2 separate regions of the Homo sapiens genome follow, and region 2 is linked to region 1. Evidence: promoter capture Hi-C in 16 types of primary human blood cells and fetal thymus (Javierre and others, 2016). All regions are on one chromosome and are shown on one strand. The core of a region is centred on a gene start or on the middle of the fragment in contact, and the rest is flanking DNA. Distances in the headings are between cores, read along the strand shown.

Evidence for each region. Contacts are between HindIII fragments. The CHiCAGO score rates a contact against its expected background, and 5 or more counts as called.
Region 2: a fragment that was not itself captured here is called in contact with the fragment with the promoter of CXCL1 in region 1 in 1 of 17 cell types (fetal thymus); the score reaches 5.3 in fetal thymus.

What each region holds. Positions count from the first base shown.
Region 1 is chr4:73,863,977-73,870,642 of GRCh38, forward strand. CXCL1 (C-X-C motif chemokine ligand 1) reads left to right here and starts at 5,417. Exons shown (of 4, transcript NM_001511.4): 1 at 5,417-5,594; 2 at 5,693-5,816; 3 at 5,930-6,013; 4 at 6,545-6,666. The coding sequence starts at 5,495. The coding sequence ends at 6,560. The HindIII fragment of the contact is 5,230 bases long and covers 724-5,953 here.
Region 2 is chr4:73,310,689-73,317,354 of GRCh38, forward strand. The region is part of intron 3 of ANKRD17-DT (ANKRD17 divergent transcript); the gene reads left to right. Among named protein-coding and RNA genes, the nearest start is that of ANKRD17-DT, 55 kb to the left of the region's middle. The HindIII fragment of the contact is 1,961 bases long and covers 1,359-3,319 here.

The DNA of each region.
Region 1 (6,666 bases), core at 4,167-6,666:
AGAGAGGCTGAACCTAACTCTAGCACCCACTATGCCCTTGTACTTTGGGGGGTGAACTGATCCAGAAATCTAACATCATATTCACACATCTTTATTATTCTCTGCTCAGAGCCAGAGTCATTACATTGGAAGAGATGAGTATAGAGAAATAGGTACAGCAGGTGTGAGGGACAAGAGTTCCTAAGGCAAGTAGGGGCAGAGGAGAGCTGCCCCGCCGGTTCCTGCCTGCCTTGAGCATGGTCACTTCTCAGGATGGAGCAGTGCCTCTATTTAGGCTCCCCTAAAATACAGAGCTTGAGTCATGGGCTTGCCATGCATGTAATTGATTTGGGGAAATGTTCCCAACACAGAGGACTCAAGAACAGGAAAGAGTAAAATAGGAAAAGAGGACATGGGCAACTGGGGTTCAATCCTACTGGATATCCTCTGAGAAATGATGTAGAATGTCTGCCCAAAGCATGAAAAATGGGAAAACATGTATCTTTTGCCTCTGGTTTCTCCTGCGAAAGGGATGTTACATGGCAGCAACAGAGAAACTTTGGGCTAGTGAGTGAAAAATACCTGATGCAGCTGAGGCAGGGAGCTGCCAGGTGACATCTGCAGGCAGCAGAGTGCTACAGCAATGACAGATAAACAGGTCTAGAAAACATGAGCTCCCAGATTTGACTGCTAATTATGAAAGTTTCAATAGTGATTCCAGGCAAAATGGAATTTAGCTACCAAAGCTTCCATTTTTAAAGGTTCCTCCATTTCTTTAAGAATTGTTGCTTGCATACGTTTAAAGACTGCGTAAAATCCCGTCATTCAACTCTTGAAAAAAATTAGCTTGGAGGAACATTTGTTCCAACAAGACAATGAATTTGTTTATTTTTCCAGGCTACAGCATTCCTGTGCTTATAAATTTTGAATTTTGGTTTATGCGGATTTCATTGATACAAGTGGCATATTAAGGAGGAAATAACAACAAAAAATTCTTTCCATTCCAATTCATTTACACAAAATGTGATTTTGATGAAAATTTTCCTGAGTCAAGTTCTGTCTAATCTGCGGATGCCCACTGCTTCTTGACATGCTTAATTCGCTTCATTCTCTTGGCAGCTCCTGTGGAGCTCTGCTCCCCCTGAGCGCTCTCATTGCGTCAGTTTTGGGTTGGGTCCTGAGATGATTACAGCAGAAACACTTGTGTTTTTCTCCAGTTACCAGAACTAGATGAGAGATTTGGGCAGCGTGATTAATGATGAAGGCAAACTATTTAATCCTATGAAACATGATGAAGTGTCCAAACTCGGCAGTAGATATTTTGGATTTTCATATTTGAACAAACAGGCACTAAACGAAAATTCAGTTTCCTCTCTAAAAGCTAGCAGATGAAACACGCATGGCCATTTAATTTTGGTGGCATTCTAAATGAATTCAGAAAGAGAAACTTTTTAAAAAATAAACTATTTTAAAAAAAGAAACTAAAAAATAAAAAAATTATTTTGAAATAATTTTAAGTTTATAAAAGTTGCAAAGTCAATACAGTATCTGTGTATCTTTCACCCACTTTCCTTTAAAGTGAACATTTTACAATATCATGGTATAGTCGTCAAAGCTAAGAAACCACCGCTGACACATTACTTTTAACTGAACTGCAGATTTTATTTGGGTTTTGCCAGTTTTTCCGTTAACATCCTCTTTCTGTTTCAGAATGCAAACCAAAGTACCACACTGCAGTGGATTGTCATATCTCCATAATTTCCTCTGGACTGTGATGGTTCTTCAATCTGCCCTTATTTTTCATGACATTGACAATTTTGAAGAGTACCACTCAGCCATTTAAGATTCTTTGATTTAGGTTTGAAGCATGCTTTTCTCATGATTAGACTTGGGCTATTAATTTTTGAAAGAGCACCAAAGAGGTATGCTGTTCTTGTGACATCATATCAAGGGGGTACATGATATGCACATGACATCACACTGATGACGTAAATCTTCCTCATTTGGTATAGGGCGAGTTTACCAGGTTTTCTCATGGCAAAGTTACTATTTTATTTTTCAGAATTGTGTACTTCAGGAAAATATAACAAGCTATTTCAATGCCACAGGAAAGATATGCTGTTAGTGAAACAAAATTATAGAGATGTGTGACCATTTTGCTGTGTTTTCATTTAAGAATATGTAAATTTGAACCATTCAACTAGGGCAATAACAGATTTTTTAAAATCATTCTACTCTTGAAAGTATTAATTATATATCACAGAGTGTTTTTATCATAGTATAATAGTTAAATGCCATTTTATCTGACTTTGATTTCCAGGCTCAAGGATGTATGACCTTAGGCAAGTGACTTAACCTCTCTGCACCACAGTTTCTTTATTTGCAACTTAAAATCTCATAGACACAACAATATCTACTGATACTGTAGTTATCAGTACAAGCACAGGCTTGTTTGGAAGACTGAATGAGTTAATATTTGTAAACTGCTTAGAAGAGCAGAAAATAAATGCTCTGCCCTTTGCCTCGGGTGTAGAGGTTTAGCAATTTGCCCTTGGTATGCAGCAGCATAATCAAGGAAGCAGCATATTTTTTATTTACCAGAATTCTGTAAGCTCTTATAATTTAGCTCCTTTGTTGAAGAAAAAAAAGCAAATTTTCAGCGACCTGTGAATGTTTGTTTCATAGACAAAGTGAAGAGACATTAGAGAAGAAAAATCTCTTCTTGCCTTTTTGGTTTGTATAAACTTTATAAAATGAGCATATATTACAACTACAATTAGAAAACAAAACAATACATTTTTCAAGTTTTAAAGAATCATTTCCATGTTTCTGGAAATTTCAGTTTCCCATCAAATCCCAGAAAAAGAGTGATAATAAGAGGTGTAATCACTCAAACTTTCAATTATGCATGAGCTAGTCACACACTTAATAAACTTTAGATTATATGTCATTTCCTATTCCTTACTACTAATTTGAACCTTCCTCTAATTTTCTTGATTTTTCCCTTAGAGTCATATTGATAAATACTAGAGTTTTTTTAAAAAATAGTCATTCCTTTAGTACATCTTTTCAATAAATAAGATGAAGACTATTACATTCAAAGTCCCTTTTTATATACATGAAGTGATTGAAAGGTGGACTACAAAATAAACCAATGATCTGTCTGAACGGTAACAAATAAAATTTCATCTAAGTGTACCTCGTGGTAGAGTACATATTTGTCTTCCTTTCTGAAAGCCTGATACAGAAAATTTTATTTCAATTTTTGTAAATTCTCAGCTGAGTTTCTTTTTTAAAAAATTTAGATTTAGAAGTTTGCAGCATTGATTACAGCTTGAAACTGATGAAGATATTTGGGACACTGTATTTGGTCTCCATTGGGTCAATGCTTTTTCATTTATTCTTCCTGTTAAGAAATATAAGTAATCAGGAAGATGTGAAAAGAGAAATAATTGAAAAAGACTGGAGTACATATACTATCTACAGTGTCTGTTTTAAAGAAACAACATTCTAGCACACCTTTCTACCCTTGACTAAGATTACTGTAATGAGAGCACCAGTACCCCTGAGTAACCGAAAGGGCATTTTGGAAACTGAGCTTTTGGTGTTTATATGAACATTCTGTCTTCCAGGACCTGCCTTGATTTATTCAAGACTCATACTGCTGTATATGGTGTTGTATACATTAGGGGTAGTTGGGTAGCAGTAACTGATATAGAAAATTTTAAATGTAAAAAACACTGGGGAGTGAACCTTTCCATTATATATATATATATATATATATATATATATATATATATAAATATATAAATATATATATAAATTCACATCAGGATGAGTTTCTGTTTAGGCAATGTTGGAAAACGCTATTTCCATTTTTTTTTTAAACAAATATTTAACAAACATTTATAAGGCACTTAAATCCATGCTGGCTCTTACAAATGTTGACTCATTTCTCATAACCACCTTGGGGTAGAAACGGAGAGGCTAAACAATCTGCAGGCGATGCTTCACTACTAAATGCAGGTGGCAGCCTTGCCTGTGTTCTCTGCTTGGCTAGGAACACAGGTCTTACCTATTGAGCTGGGCTGTGTAGAACTCTGTTGTGGAGACATCTGCCCCTGGGGCAGAAGCCTCTGCTTTTTCCCCCTCCTCCCATCTTACTCCATGTCTCAGAGAGCTCTGAATCCCACTTGGAGAATCACACTTAAACCCTCTAAAAACCTAATGATGAATAAAAATAAGTTCTCTAGAACTTCTGGAGAAAAAAGTAATAAAGCTACCAGGTTAAATGACTGAAATTCCTGAGAGAAAACAACATGTGTGTGTTTCTCTAGAAAGGGGGCCCAATACTGAATACCAGGAAGTCCTATAGTAAATGGAATGTGACTCTATGTGGGATCCGGCGTTCCTATTTCATCCGAATGCATGTCTGCTGCTTCAGTGGGAAGGGTGCTTGCACACCAGGTACCCACTCCCTGGTGTCATGTGCTATGCAGTCCAAAGACAGAACCAGGAATGGTGAGCCCATGAGCCTGCTGGACCCAGCCCCTCCGAGGTCCGGAGTGACAACCAGTGCCGTATTTCTAGATCAAACCTGAACCCCTCCTACAGGGAAAAGATTTCCAGGGGATTTTGAAAGTTCCAACATTTTACAGGGAAGAAGGAAGATAAGCAGGATATGAAAGAAGAGTTCATGTTATACAGCCCTGGCTTCCACTGACGCTAACACTGGATTCAGCTTTTGACACTGATAATCTGTTGCCACCAAATGGAAAACGTAAACAAGATATTCTAAGTGTGGTTAGAGAATATGCAACACAAGGAACAAGCAGAACATTCTTCTCTGGAATCTGACATAATGGACTGTACTTTCACAGACAGCACTGATGTTAGATGTACGTGAAATAGGCTAAACTGAAAATAAGAAAGGCTGAGGCAGAGAGGATAATATAGCTCCAGCCTATCTCCCAGCACCTTGTTAATTTCTCTCAATCTCCAGCCACAAATCCGAGACACAACGCTCTTCCTCCAAAGAGGTCGCGCCTTCTCTGTGGTGGTTCTCAGGGATCCGCCCCAGCTCCTTCTCCGTTCCCAGCCCCACACACTGGGATCACCAGGCACCCAAGATCCCACCTCTCAGGTGGTATCTTCAGCGCAGGCTGCCACTCAGCCCCCCTCCAGGGATCTGGGGCAGAAGGCGAATATCCCAGAGTCTCAGAGTCCACAGGAGTTACTCTGAAGGGCGAGGCGCGGGCTGCATCAGTGGACCCCCACACCCCACCCGCACCCCAAGCGCTCCACCCTGGGGGCGGGGCCGTCGCCTTCCTTCCGGACTCGGGATCGATCTGGAACTCCGGGAATTTCCCTGGCCCGGGGGCTCCGGGCTTTCCAGCCCCAACCATGCATAAAAGGGGTTCGCGGATCTCGGAGAGCCACAGAGCCCGGGCCGCAGGCACCTCCTCGCCAGCTCTTCCGCTCCTCTCACAGCCGCCAGACCCGCCTGCTGAGCCCCATGGCCCGCGCTGCTCTCTCCGCCGCCCCCAGCAATCCCCGGCTCCTGCGAGTGGCACTGCTGCTCCTGCTCCTGGTAGCCGCTGGCCGGCGCGCAGCAGGTGGGTACCGGCGCCCTGGGGTCCCCGGGCCGGACGCGGCTGGGGTAGGCACCCAGCGCCGACAGCCTCGCTCAGTCAGTGAGTCTCTTCTTCCCTAGGAGCGTCCGTGGCCACTGAACTGCGCTGCCAGTGCTTGCAGACCCTGCAGGGAATTCACCCCAAGAACATCCAAAGTGTGAACGTGAAGTCCCCCGGACCCCACTGCGCCCAAACCGAAGTCATGTAAGTCCCGCCCCGCGCTGCCTCTGCCACCGCCGGGGTCCCAGACCCTCCTGCTGCCCCAACCCTGTCCCCAGCCCGACCTCCTGCCTCACGAGATTCCCTTCCCTCTGCAGAGCCACACTCAAGAATGGGCGGAAAGCTTGCCTCAATCCTGCATCCCCCATAGTTAAGAAAATCATCGAAAAGATGCTGAACAGGTGAGTTATGGTTTCCATGTACACAGGCGACTGGAGCCGTTGGTCAGAAATACTGGCATGTGCCCCCTAAAAATAAAATCAGGAAAACCCAGGGGTTAGTTGAAGGACTAGAAATTGGGATTATTGTTTTCACAATTAAGGTTTCCTTTACGATAATTACTGCTCTGGTGCCAGAGGATATTCCCAATGCCTGGCGTCCCCACCCTGGTTCTTCCTTCGTTCCAATGAATGTAGGTAAAACTGCCTTCATTTGAGGCCCAGTAGGACAAACAGCAACAGGTTCTGGCTGTTTTTAATCCAATAGTACAGTGGAGACCACCGCCCCACCCCACCCCCATTCCTAAAAGAGCATCCCAAGCTTAGAGGTCCCTGCCACACAGCACAGCTGTCATAGGCAGTAGCCACTTGGTTGCCAGGCTGGGGAAACTGCATTCGGAAAACTCTAGAGGCTGGAGGAGCAGGGCAGGAGAAGAGTGTTGTGCAATCAGCTTTCCCGAGCACCTACTCAGGGCACCCATTTTCTCATTGCAGTGACAAATCCAACTGACCAGAAGGGAGGAGGAAGCTCACTGGTGGCTGTTCCTGAAGGAGGCCCTGCCCTTATAGGAACAGAAGAGGAAAGAGAGACACAGCTGCAGAGGCCACCTGGATTG
Region 2 (6,666 bases), core at 1,089-3,588, 560 kb before region 1:
AACTGCAAATTCTCAGTGGTGCTATCATAAACATTTTGTCATCATATCCTTGGAAATCTTAAGAGACATTTTTGTCAAATTCATTTTAACAATCATGCTGTTTCTGCTTCACTGGACAGGTGAAATTAAGTTAAACTGAGTCTCAAGGACTGTCTTGAAGAATAAAATAAGTCATAGCAGTACTATAGCTCAAATAATGTCATAAATAGAGAGAACCAGTTTTATCTGCCTTGTCTCCATGACAGGAAGTTTTAAGACTGTTTGCATCCTATATGAGCCTCAATTTTTTTAACCAACTGGTAAAGCTGCCTTTTCCTCCACTTCCATATATGCTTTTATAGAAAGATGTATATTTTCTTAAGAGATCAAATCAGGGATGAATTGGACTTTACAAATATTGTAACAGTAAATCGCAATCATAATTTGATTCAAGGATCTTTCAAAATTAGAGAATACCAGTTATTGATAGCTGCTATCTAGATAGCAACAATATACCATTACAATGTTTCTACTACTTCAAAAAAAAAAGTATAATGCTCTAACCCAAACTGCCAACAAAAGTACTGTCATTTTAAATGCTGTGTCACTCAAACTTCAATCTAACAACCTACGTTTTGCAACTCTTTCCCCCTTAAGCAATATAATTATTACTACCCATTGGGTGTATAATATGAGTGACATGCTGCACTAAACAACTGTATTACGATCTTCTCGTTAATTCTTCTTAACAACTCTGGCAGGTAGGTACTATTATTATGTGCATTTTACAGAGATTAAGCAACTTGCCTGTGGTCATCCAGCTAGTAAATGATGAAGCAAAAGTTTGAAGCCTAGTAGCCTAAATTGAGCCCTTTCTTTTCAAGCAGAGACACAAATGTAATATTTGTTTATTTAAGAACTGCTAAGGAAACTTTTCCTAGGAAACATGGTTGAATGATTCACATAAAGTATAGTTAATTTTTTTTCAGTTTGAAGCCACTAGATGGCAATATTTGCAAATTTTGTTTTTCTTTTTACTTAAGGTGGAAAAGTAACTCCACAGTATTAGTGACTAGTTTTCTGTGAAGAAATTATTTATCTTTGATTTGCCAAATATAACTGTTATTTGTAGGAAGATTTTTCAGTGACATGATGTAATGTGACCATAGCAGTTTCAAGTGGGACAAAAATTGGAGTGTTATCTGCTATTTCATTTAATTTTTGTTTTACTTTAGTTTGAGGTTGAAGGGAAGTTCCTAGAAACTTAAAATTTCTTCCTGGAGGTCCTCCCTCATGCTACAACACTGCCATGAAGTCCTGTTTGTTTAATATCAAACATGACAAACACTTACTTTTCAGAAAAATAGTGTGCTATAACAAGCTTTAGTGACTTTAAAAACATAATTTGTATTGCCTGGAATGTACCCCTCCTCTTTTACATCATACATTCCTGTGTATCTTTTAAATCCTAACTTACATATGTATCTTTTTCCTCTGTGATGTCCCTTCCACAAGCACAGGCAGATTCTTCTAACAGTACCACCTCAGTCCCATACCATTTGAGGCTTTGATACATTATACATGTCCTAATGATATACATTTGTGTTTATCTTCACTCTCCTTTGGGAGCACTTCAAAGGCAGTCTTTTAAAAATTCATATATGGAGCCGGCCGCGGTGGCTCATGCCTGTAATCCTAGCACTTTGGGAGGCCGAGGCGGGCGGATCACGAGGTCAGGAGATCGAGACCATCCTAGCTAACACGGTGAAACCCCGTCTCTACTAAAAATAAATTCAAAAAAAATTAACCGGGTGTGGTGGAGGGCGCCTGTAGTCCCAGCTACTCAGGAGGCTGAGGCAGGGGGATGGCATGGACCCAGGAGGTGGAGCTTGCAGTGAGCTGAGATTGCACCACTGCACTCCAGCCTGGGCAACAGAGCGAGACTTCGCCTCAGAAAAAAAAAAAAAATCATATATAAAACTCTCAGTTTCTCAATACCTAAATAAAAAAAATCATATTAGCATATCACAAGCTATTTATCTAATCCTCTACCGATGACATTTGATTTCTTTTCACATGTTTGCTTTTACATACAATGCTTCAAAAAAGTCTTTGTTTTTGTCTTGCACGTGTGTGAGAATTGCATTAGAAATTCTAGAGATCAAATTTATGCATAATAGGGTACATATGGTGCACACAATTTTAATCACACTTGACATTTGTCATTCATTTTGGCTGCTCGTCAACTAATATGCCTATGTTTTGGGAACTTTCCATTTTATGAGTATGGTGGGAGGCCGACCCTGTTTTCCACTATAAACACTGAAAATGCCAAATACTTGCTTCGTGAGCTTCCTTTGCACCTAGGATGTGGGCACATGGTCTTGTTTCTCTGCTTGAAATTGAGAGCCAATGCATCAGAAGAGAGGACTCTGCACAGCTGTGTTGATTGTTGCAGCAGGACTAAACTTTGTATCAGTAATGGAAGCTATGCTATTAGTGGCATTTAGTACACAGAGCCAGTTCTGTGTGCAGTGCAGGTTGCAACAACTTTTGTTTGGTGAAGGCCACAGTGGGGTTCTCATTAGATCATTTCTATGGTGTGATTTTGAGCATAGTTTTTGGTGCAAAGCCCTGTCCCTAATTGTCTAGGATTCCTAATGATTCTATGAACTACCCCCAAATCCTTGTAATAATGTCCTATTCTGCTTCATCAGTTGAACTTGGTTATTTTTTGTTTCTAGCTAAAAATCCTGACTCTTATAAATTGGTATCAGGAATGGGCTGGAGGTGTTGTTTCTAAAGACGCTGAACAGCTAAATAAAAAAGGAATGACATTCTCAAAATTCTAATTTAGGGCATAGATTGAAAACCAGCTAAAAGAATATCTCCTTTCTTGCAGCCACAGGGTTGAGATAGTCAAAGATCAAATTCAAAGTTTAATTATATAGGTTTCCAAATTCCAAACTCAGCTGAATTCACAGTCTTGTGTAGTATGTGAAAGTAAGAGTTTGATAATGAAAGAGTAGTGTCCCCCCAAACTAAAATGGGATACATGAAAGGATTTAATTTGATTGACTCAGAAAATACTGATTCCTCTTCATAGAGACTCCCTTGCCTCCAGGAGCGCTTACCTTCATTTGACTCATGAGATTGTTCTTACCTTGCTTTACAACCCTGTCACAACTTTACGTAAGGAAGTCATATTGCAGGAGGAAGCCAGTCCTCTTCTTGCTCTACTCTTAACACTTATTATGTCTAGACCAATAATGAAAACCAGATCCTCAGCTTGAACTTGTATTAGGGGAGTGATATTATAGCATAACCCCCAGGATGATAAAGCTTGTACTTTAAAATAGTTTAAGAAAAATATTATTTTAGTTCAGTGATGAAAAGAAGATTTGGTTAATGTATACATATAAATAAGGGAGGAATGTATTTTAAGACGTAACTGAAGTTACCAGTATGGGTAACCTTGTCAGAAATTAGTCTTTTAATATCCTAGCTTAAACATATGGGAGTAGTTTTAATTGTTTTCTTGTTTGGTTGACTGAAATCCAGACCATAGCTCATATGAACAGAAATGGACCTGCTCTAGAGAAGAAAAGATATTAATACAAGAGTTAAAAGACTTGGGTAGAAATCTTAAGGTAGAAGTAGTGGATTAATTTGTTGTTTGCATTCTGCTCTCCTCACTCCTAATAAAATCCCTCAAGAGGGTTCAAGAGATAACCTCTTCACCAAATCTGTTAGAAATAGATTAGACAGTAGTCTGGGTGCAGTGGCCCACTTCTGTAATCCCAGCACTTTAGGAGGCCAAAGCAGCAGGATCACTTGAGGCCAAGAGCTTGAGGTCAGTTTGGACAATATAGTAAAACCTTGTTTCTGTTTTAAAAAACAAACAAACAATTTGAGAGTCTTTCTGAGCTACCTGTGGCTCAGGTAGCTGCCCAATAAGCAACAACAAGAAATACATTACATGGGCATTGTGGCTCATACCTATAATCCCAGCACTTTGGGAGGCCGAAGCAGGAGGATTGCTTGAGGCCAGGAGTTTGAGACCAGCCTAGGCAACATAGCAAGTCCCCCATCTCTATGAAAAATATAAAATTAGCTGGGCATGGTGGCTTGTACCTGTGGTCTCAGCTACTTGAGAAGCTGAGGCAGGAGGATCACTTGAGCCCAGGAGGTTGAGGTTGCAGTGAGCCAAGATTGTGACATTGCCTTCCAGCTTAGGCAACAAAACAAGACACTGTCTCAAAAAAAAGAAAAAAAAAGAAAAAAGAAAAAAAAAAGAAAGAAAAAGTAGAAAACAAATGAATTAGGAATGCCTCTTGAGGGCACCCTTAATTTCAGTGAGAATGTGAAGATCCTAGGTTGACAGAAATTAGAGTACTTAATTACTAAGGCAAATTGGCGTGATTACCATAATTATAGACCATAAATTCCTGACCATTAGTCTGGATAACTACTTGATCTGAGCTGATCATGATGAACCACATGTTATCCATTAAAGTACCAAGTTAGTCATGCCTAGTAGCAGTCCACTATAAAAAGGAAGTAATATATGTGGAACTGAGCCGGAGAATATCTAGAGGCACAAGAAGGATACATGTGTTTATGATTCATATTCTGAGTGTGCTACTTCTGCTTCGTTGTCATTTTTCTCTCAACTTCATTTATGACCTCATGGCAAGTTACCTATGACCTAAATCTCTGACCTTGGTTAACAGATGAGTCAACATAATTTGCTGGCACTAGGTGAAAGTAGACTACCACCTCCCTACAAATCTAATCAGGGTTAGCTCTTAAGGACCATGAAAAATGAATTCCTCTTGATAGGTAGAATTTTGAGTATCCCAGGTAATTTTCCAGTTATGAAAACCATAGCCTGAATCAAGAATCTATGCCCATTTATGGTGACTGGCTAGTGGAACTAGAAGGAGGAAGATTAGAGTCTTAGAAACAAGGAGTTTGAAAAGTAAAATACAAGGATAGATGTCTTCCTATGGATCCAGAATATGAGAATATTGTCCCAAATGAAAGCGTGTCAAAAAGTCTTTACCATGGAAGAAGCTCTTAATAATCAAAGAGGCTGGCAGTTAGCCTCTATCTATGACCATACCATTGCTTTCTTAATAGGCTCATTAAAAAATACCAATCTTGCAGGGATGGAGGCCATGCATGGACTCAACAACATCAATTTTTACTCCTGAAGGCTTGCCAACAGCAGGAACTTATCCTCAATCTTTTATGTGACATCTCCATTCGTTTTCTATTGCTGCATAAAAATTATCACAAAATTAGCCATTGGTAACAAAACGCATTTATTACTTCACAGTTTCCACGTATCACAAGTCTGGACATGGCTTAGCTGAGTTCTTTGCACAGGTTCTCGGAAGACTGTAATCAAGGTGCTGGCCATACTGGCATTCTTGTCTGGAGGCTTCATTAGGGGAGAGTCCAATTCTAAGTTAATTCATAGTTTTTGGCTATATGATTGAAGGCCCTGACTTTTTGCTAGCTTTTGTCTGGAGGCTGCCCACAGCCCCTTGACACATAGTCTTTTAGTACATGGCCACTTACTTCATCAAACATACAAGCCAAGCTGGCTTTATGGGCACACATCCTATGCTGTCACATATCCCTGTGCTTAGAAGGCCCCACACTTGGTTTAAGGCTCTTTTGTAGCTGTTTTGAAATTCTTAGTAATTTTTGAAAAAAGGAGCCCCAGGTTTTGCTTTTGCAGTGGGCCCCACAAATTATGTAGCTAGTGCAATCTGCAAGGAGAGTTTCTAGCTCCAGTCTGCTAAGATGGAGACTTTGGTAACATAATCTAATCACAAGAATTACATCCATCATCTTTGCCATATAATGTAATCATAAGAGTGATATCACCTTTGCTACTGTCTACTGGTTAGAAGCACGTCATAGGTCCCTACCATACTCAAGGGAAGGGGACTATAGGAGGACGTAAATACGAGGAGGTGAGAATTGCAAGGGCCACTCGTAGGTCTTTCTGCCACAGTACCATAAACTGGACTAGGGCAAGTAGAGAGCAGGTACCTAGAAAGGATTTCAGCTGGATTTCTCTGCCTGCCATGCTTTTGTTTGCAGCACTATTTCTTGGAATTTTTGAGTGTCTTATTCACAGTCATTGCATCCCACACAGCATTGTCTCCAAGGAATTATTTTACAGTTTACAATTTATCCCTTACCACCTGCTTTATAGATTGTCGAAATGTCGTACTGAAGACTAGCACCTATAGTGCCAGGCAGGAAAGCAATTTCTTGGGAGGTCAGGATGTTGTCTTGCATAAAGTATTATATGCTCTGAACTGGTAATCAGTACATGGGCTGTTTTCCTCATAAACAGAATGTGTAGATTTGGGAAGCAATGACTATAAGTGGTGGCTCATAAAATTACACCAAATGCCTACTTATACATTTTTTTGCATCATGTCTTCAGAACATGAGTTTTTACTGGTTCAGAGATCTTAATGTCTAAGAGATATTACTTAATATCTAAAAGAGATTTCCTGTAACCACCAAGAGACACAAGCAAAGTTCAACTGTATCGACAGTGGCCACTGCCAACTGGCTGTTTTGAATAATTGATGCCACTGGACAAACCAGACCAAAAGGGAATTCAGGTGTTGGCAGAGGTGATTGATTCTATTCATGAAG